2 separate regions of the Homo sapiens genome follow, and region 2 is linked to region 1. The links are contacts of gene promoters, found by promoter capture Hi-C in blood cells and fetal thymus (Javierre and others, 2016). All regions are on one chromosome and are shown on one strand. The core of a region is centred on a gene start or on the middle of the fragment in contact, and the rest is flanking DNA. Distances in the headings are between cores, read along the strand shown. Region 1 holds the start of GABARAPL2 (GABA type A receptor associated protein like 2). Region 2 overlaps CENPN-AS1 (CENPN antisense RNA 1).

Region 1 (3,488 bases), core at 268-2,767:
TAAACCACACGCTCTGGAGGTTAAGAATTGATATAAATGTGTTACAGGGAAACAGTAAGTGCTTTTCTGTGGTCAATTATGTAAGAGAAATGCAGCCCTTACCACTAAGCTTTTCCACATTTTATCTGGGCAGACCTAAGAATATCTGGGGAGGGTTTCATCCATGGCCCGTTACTCCAGGACCCCAGAATGGATCCACCTTCACACTACAGGAAACACTACTGTGTTCCCAAGGAACACAGGAGACAAGAATGGATGGACTAATTGGAATGCCTGGAATTTTAGCCAGCCAAGAACCAAGTTCTTCATTTGGCCTGTTGCTCCTCTCTGAACAAGTTTCAAATCCGTCCCTCCTACTCCTTTCCCCAGACAAATTATTCACAAGCAAAGAGCTACAATAACAGGCCTTAATGTCCATTAAAAATTAATAACGATTACAAAACTATCTCCCCAACCATGGAAGAAATATAACATTATATTTATTATTGACTAAGAAGAAAATATGGCAGAAGGGGTTTTCAGCGGCTTTTCACATTATTTTGGTCAGGCAAGGATGACAGGGTCAAGGTGAGATAACGGAGCTAGAAGTTAGGTAAAGATGGAGACAAAGTAAAAGATGAACGTCCTGAGACTCAAGTACCACTTCCAAGACCAAAATGACAGTCTCCCTCCACCACCATTCCCAAAAGTGGCAGTGACCTGTTGCCCTGTCCTAGAACATCGTTCCTTACATAATTGGCCAGGGAGCCCCGAGGCTGCAGACGGCTCGCTGGCCTAGATCGGGAGATTCAGCACTGAGGCACCCTGAACAGCACCAGCCCGAGCCCCTCACGCCCCGGCCCTGGGCGGCCTCATCCCGGTCTGGCCCGTCAGCTACTGTAACTGGGACTGGAACCTCAACTTGTCAACTGTTGAATGGCCTGGGGCCTATCACGGGTCCCAGACGACAGAGGTGACAGCGAGGTGAGGGGGCGGAGAGTCCACTCACCGGAACCCTGTCGGGATATTTCGCTCGAATCTTCGCGGACTCCACGCATCTGTGTTCTGTGGGAGAAACAAACGGGGCTGACGGCCGCGCCTGCCCACCGGTCGGTTCCCGGCCCCCGGCCCTCCTCCTCCTGCGCCCTGCGTACAACCCAGGCCCTGGTTCCGGCGTCCCCGGGGCCGCGGTCCTGTCCCCTACTAGCTCCCAGCAAGGCCCGCGGAGGGTGACATGGGGTCAGGGGGCCGCTGCCCGAGGCACCAGGGCATGGGCGACTCCAGCCCGCAGCAGGGCATCCGCCCCGCTCCACTCGGCCCAGGGCCGCCCGAGTGGGGGAGGGGGCCCACCCGCCGCCCCAGCCCCCAGCAGCCGGGCCGACGACCAAGTGCTTACCCAGCGAGTGGTCCTCCTTGAACATCCACTTCATGGCGGCGGCGGGAAGGGGACGGAACCGGCTCGCGGAGCCGCGGAGCTCAGCGCACCGAGCACAACAACAACGACGGCGGCAGCGGCAGCGGCAGCGACGGCGGCGACTACACGGCAGGCGGGACTTCCGGCTGTCGGAGCCTAGCAACCGGCCGGGGGCGGGGCTTCCGGCGCCATTTGTCAGGGCGCCACGCCAAGGGGCGGGGCCGCACGTAAAGGGGCGGGGCCGCGGAGGACCCCTTTGGGGGCTCCTGGGCTGCGGTGGCGAAGAAGTTGGTTATGGGGACGTCTGTGAGCAGTATCTGCGACATTGCTCGCAGGAATGTTCGGGGAACTGGTGACAGGAGTGGGGTCTCGGGAGCGTTGGTGGCGGAAAACGTCTGGCTGATAGTGTAGGGCTCTTACTGAGGGCTGTTTGGGGGTGTGGCTGATAGCTGAGGGCTCTTAGAGCGGTTCATAGGGGAAGTCTGGGGAATTGGTGACAAGAACGGTCTTTAGGGGTAAGAATGACATAAGGAGGGCTTTCTAGAGCTTGGCGATAACAAGGGAGCTGTTTAGGGCGTTGACAGTTTGGGGAGTATTGCTCGGAGTGGTGACAGGTTGGGGGCTCATTATGGGAGGGGAGGGTGTTTGAGGACACTGTTGGAAGCGGCACTGAGGACAACCCGGAGGTCCGTATTAGGGACAGCCGTAGTAGGTTGTCTTGGACCTAGAAATTGAATTTAAACAAATCCCGTTTTCTTCCTTTATTCGTGAATAAATATTTGAATAAACATTTACGAAAAGGTATCACAAATGCACATTTGAGGCGGGGTACGGTGGCTCACGCCTGTAATCCCAACACTTTGGGAGGCCGACGCGGGTGGATCACCTGAGGTCAGGAGTTGAAGACCAGCCTGGCCAACATGGTGAAACCCCGTCTCTACTAAAAATACAAAAATTAGCCAGGCATGGTAGTGGGCGCCTGTAGTCCCAGCTCCTCGGGAGGCTGAGGCAGGAGAATCGTTTGAACCAGGGAGGTGGAGGTGGCAGTGAGCCGAGATCACACCACTGCACTCCAGCCTGGGCAACAGAGCAAGACTCCGCCTCAAAAAAAAATGCACATTTGAGGAGTGTAACATCACTGATCACAGACCCCTTAATTTTAACTGGCAGAGGAGTTAGAGGTGACTGTCAGACTCGGAGAATTCCCCTGAGAGCTGGTCATGAGATGGGTTTCCTTATTTGGCTGTGGGAGTGGTTTAGCAATCACAGCCTGAGCTGTGTGTGTGTCACCTGCCCGGACATATGCTTTGAGGTTCTCCAATCAGTGATGTAATGCCTTTTTTCCAAGCAGACTCATCAAGGCAGTCTGGTCTGGGTCACCATCTGTTTATAAGCTGCTGAACATGTAGCAGGAATATTCACTTAATTGGGCACATGAACCCTGCCACGTGCTTGTGATTCTGATGCACCTGTAAAGCCTGTATGTTTGAATGTGGTAGTTCATCATTTCCTACACTGGAAATTCCTGATCGATGCTGTGGAATCTAGCTTCATTCTATAAGTATTTTTGTTATTTTAAGACTGTGTGTCTGAGTAACTAGAATAGGTTTTTTTGTTTCTTTGTTTTTGTTTTTGTTTTTTGGAGACAGGGTCTTTCTCTGTCACCCAGGCTGGAGTTCAGTGGCACAATCTTGGCTTACTGCAGTCTGCCTCCTGGGTTCAAGCGATTCTGCTGCCTCAGCCTCCTGAGTAGCTGGGACTACAGGGACACACCACCACACCCAGCTAATTTTTGTATTTTTGGTAGAGATGGGGTTTTGTCATGTTCGCCAGGCTGGTCTTGAACTTCTCACCTCAAGTAAGTGATTTGCCCGCCTCGGCCTCCCAAAGTGCTAGGATTACAGGTGTGAGCCACTGCATCTGTTTGTTTGTTTTTAATGAAGTGGAAAAAATCCTTTGAATTTCCTACTTAGAAATTATTGTTACATACAAGAGCTCTGTGCTAGGTGCTGGGGAAAAACAGTGAAGAAGACAGATGACATCCCTATTCTCATGGGTGGCAGCATGAGATATTCTTGTCCCCCTGACATATTCT
Region 2 (3,488 bases), core at 650-3,149, 5.5 Mb before region 1:
CTCTAATCGATCCATTCTTCCTAGGAAAGTGACTTCAGGCAGTAGTCACATAAAAGAAAAAGCAATACGTTGAGCAATGCGTTTACTTCCCAAAGATTAGAAACAACCCAAATGTCTAGTGGCAGGTGAGGCAGAAGTACACTGATTTCCGCCGTTGTTTATTACCTAGGCCTTACTGGGTACCAGGTGGGTCTGGTGGATGCACTTTTCATGCTGTGTCTCATTTTGTCTTCAAAACGACTGTAGCGGGTATGTACTGTAACTTGCCCCACCTTGTGCAGAGAAGGACATTTAGGCTTATATAAATTAAGTAACTTGACCTAGACCACACTATACAAATGAAAAGATTGTTATTATTGATAGGATTAATCATTTTAAGAAGGCTGGATTTGCTTGCTTCTATTTTAGCTGCTGAAATTAGGATTACTGTTTGGGAGACACTGCAGTTCAGTATACGATTACAAAACTTAATACTTAGACTGGGTAGTTCATGTAAATGGACATAGGAGGCTGGGGTAGACAAAAGGGAGGGGTGAGGACTGCAGTGAAATTGGAAACACATCCTTTATTAAAAGGGGGCAGCTGCTACTCATCTTTGGTATGGCTAGAGTTTTATGTGAAAATTTCCACCTTTTACATACTAGCAGCTATATTCGTTTTCTCTTGCTATTAATAAATTACCACAAACTTACTGCCTTAACACAAATTTATTATCTTCCAGCTCTGGAGGTCAAAAGAAATGAGACTGCTGGGCTAAGATCAAGGTGTCAGCAGGGCTGTATTCCTTCCCAAGGCTCCAGGGGAGAATCTGTTCACTTGCCTTTCCCAGCTTCTAGAGGTTGCCTACATTCCTTGGCTTGCGGACCCTTCCTCCATCTCCAGAATCAGTAACGGTGAGTTGAGTCTTCGTCACATCACATCACTCTGATTTCTTCAGTAGTGATCCCTCTGATTCTTCTATTCTTGAGGCCCCCTGTGATGACATTGGGCCCATTCAAATCATCCAGGATAATTTCTCCAACTGCCAAGTCCCTTTGCCTTGCAAGATAACTGTGATAATGTGAAGTATATATTTGGTCTTTGTCCTGGCATGCAATTCCTAAAATCCTTGGAATCAGCAAATTGGTGTTTTTTTGTATGCTAATTAGTTGACTGATGACTCACAGTCCCTAGGTAGCTTTAGGATGGGACTGGTCACTGGAAAGACCAAGGTAGGATTAGAGGCTTGAGACTTTCAGCCCTCCCCCTCAACCTCTGGGGAGGAGACAGGGGCTGAAGCTTAAGCTGATCAATCATTCCTAGGTAATGAAGCCTCCATAAAATCCCAAAAGAAATGGGTTTGGAGAACTTCCAGATAGCTGAATGCATGGAGTTTCCTGGAGGGAGGCGCACTCAAAGAGGGCATGCGTGGAAGCTCTTGCCCTATGCATCTTTTCATCTGAATCCTTTGTAACATCCCTTGTAAGAAGTCAGTCTATGTGTCTTCCTGAGTTCTGTGAGCTGCCCTAGCAAATTAATTGAACATGAAGAGAGGGTTGTGGGAAATGCAATTTATAGCTGGTTAGTCAGAAGCGCAGGTGAAACAACCTGGGGCTGGCAACTGGCCTCAGAAGTGGGTGGCAGTTTTGTGGGACTGAGCCCTTAACCTATGGGGTCTGATGATATCGCCAGGTAGTTAGTGTTGGAATTGAACTGGAGCATACCCAGCTGGTATCTGCTGTAGAACTGATTGCTTATGTCAACCAAGAAGAGGTGAAAGGGCCAGGCATGGTGGCTCACGCCTGTAATCCCAGCACTTTGGGTGGCCGAGGCAGGGCGGATCACGAGGTCAAGAGATCGAGACCATCCTGGCCAACATGGTGAAACTCTGTCTCTACTAAAAATACAAAAATTAGCCGGGTGTGGTGCGCACGCCTGTAATCCCAGCTACTCAGGAGGCTGAGGCAGGAGAATCGCTTGAACCCAGGAGACGGAGGTTGTGGTGAGCCAAGATCGCACCACTGTACTCCAGCCTGGTGACAGAGCAAGACTGTCTCAAAAAAAAAAAAAAAAAAAAGAAGAGGTGAAAGACCACACTGCAAAGCAGTAAGACAAGGCATTTTTTTTTAATTAAAAAAAAAAAAAAGAAAAGAGACAGGGTCTCGCCATTTTGGCCAGCTTGGGGTCAAGTGATCCACCTGCCTCGGCCTCCGAAAGTGCTGGGATTATAGATGCAAGTTACCACGTCCAGCCAAACAAGGCATTTTGATTGGGGTCTTAGAAATTACAATTTGGGAGACACAGATTCACCTAGAAGCCAAATGGGGTTCTGAAAAGAGGGAGAGAAGTAGATGTTTTTAAAAGAAAGCAGAGGGTTAATACACAAATTGTTTTGAAAGAATTATCATTGGTGGAGGTGGCTGGCTTAGTACATGAATCCATAGTTGATTGGTTGCCGCTGTTCAGGAGTTGTAGCACTGGTGAAATTCAGTTTTCCAGGATGTAGTGGTTATTGCAGTTTTGGCCCAGTTCAAAGCTTCAAGGCAAGTTCATATTTTTTGTTTTTGTGTTTTGCAAGTTGCAGATTGTGCAGGCAGTCCTTCTTAGAATGGCTTCCCAACTCCATTTTAGAGCTCTGAACCAAAGTGATGCCATTTTGTGTATCACTTTTCACATTTTCCTTTTTTGATCAAGATCCGAGGCAGCATAGCTGATTAATCATTGGTTGGTTGGCCACAGATTAGTTATCTGTTCCCCTTAGAGCTAGAAGCACCTGTGTCTAGAGTGTTATGTCCCACAAAAAGTGGTTGTCAAGTCAGTGCACATCCAAGCTTCCAAGATTGGTCAAATTTGAGTAACAAAGGGTCCATTTTAACAAGGAGGCCTGCATTAGTCTATAGCAGTTAGCTGTATATCAGGAGAGACATACATTTGATTAACCATTTAAATGTCTAAATGTTGTGACATCATGATTTTAACATCTTGGATACAATGGGACAAACAGAAGGTACAAGTCCTTCTGCCAGCTGCTCGGGTCCTGGGTCCCTTGACTGTGGCTTCCAGAATAGCAGAGCAGCTTTTGGATCCTGCAAACAAGTGCTAAAAAAAAAAAAACACTGAAAATCAACTGATAAAAGACGGATTAATAGGAGAAAAGACATACAAGTTTTATTAACGTGCCTGGTGGGGAGGGGAGGCATCAGAGTGATGATTCCCCAACCCCCAATGGGGTGTGGACGCTTATATACCCTTTTTCATAGGAGAGTAAGGAGATGGGGAACGTGTGTAATTCTTCTGAGGAGCAGTAAATTATTATAAGGGAGAGTAAATGGACCAGGGAGACAGAAATTAACTTGTAAATGATTCTCTTTGGAATCTGAATGAGCCTGAGGGGCAGGCCTTATGAAAAGGTCCATCCATATGTGGCTCTATTCCTCAGTCTTCATTTTTTGATAGATAATGAGATTTGAAGGACAGAATAGAAGGCAACTGTGTTTCTTTTAGTAAGA

Evidence for each region. The method cuts DNA at HindIII sites, captures the fragments that hold promoters and counts their contacts. A CHiCAGO score of 5 or more calls a contact.
Region 2: a fragment that was not itself captured here is called in contact with the fragment with the promoter of GABARAPL2 in region 1 in 1 of 17 cell types (total CD4 T cells); the score reaches 5.8 in total CD4 T cells.

Annotation. Positions count from the first base shown.
Region 1 is chr16:75,564,408-75,567,895 of GRCh38, reverse strand. It overlaps GABARAPL2 (GABA type A receptor associated protein like 2), which reads right to left and starts at 1,517. Exons shown (of 4, transcript NM_007285.7): 1 at 1,376-1,517; 2 at 989-1,044. The coding sequence starts at 1,409. RefSeq lists an enhancer at 302-1,055 and a silencer at 1,045-1,454. The HindIII fragment of the contact is 5,212 bases long and covers 112-3,488 here.
Region 2 is chr16:81,032,160-81,035,647 of GRCh38, reverse strand. It overlaps CENPN-AS1 (CENPN antisense RNA 1), which reads left to right. Exons shown (of 4, transcript XR_007065134.1): 2 at 722-893. It also overlaps a transcript of CENPN not described here. Among named protein-coding and RNA genes, the nearest start is that of ATMIN, 1.9 kb to the left of the region's middle. The HindIII fragment of the contact is 1,237 bases long and covers 1,281-2,517 here.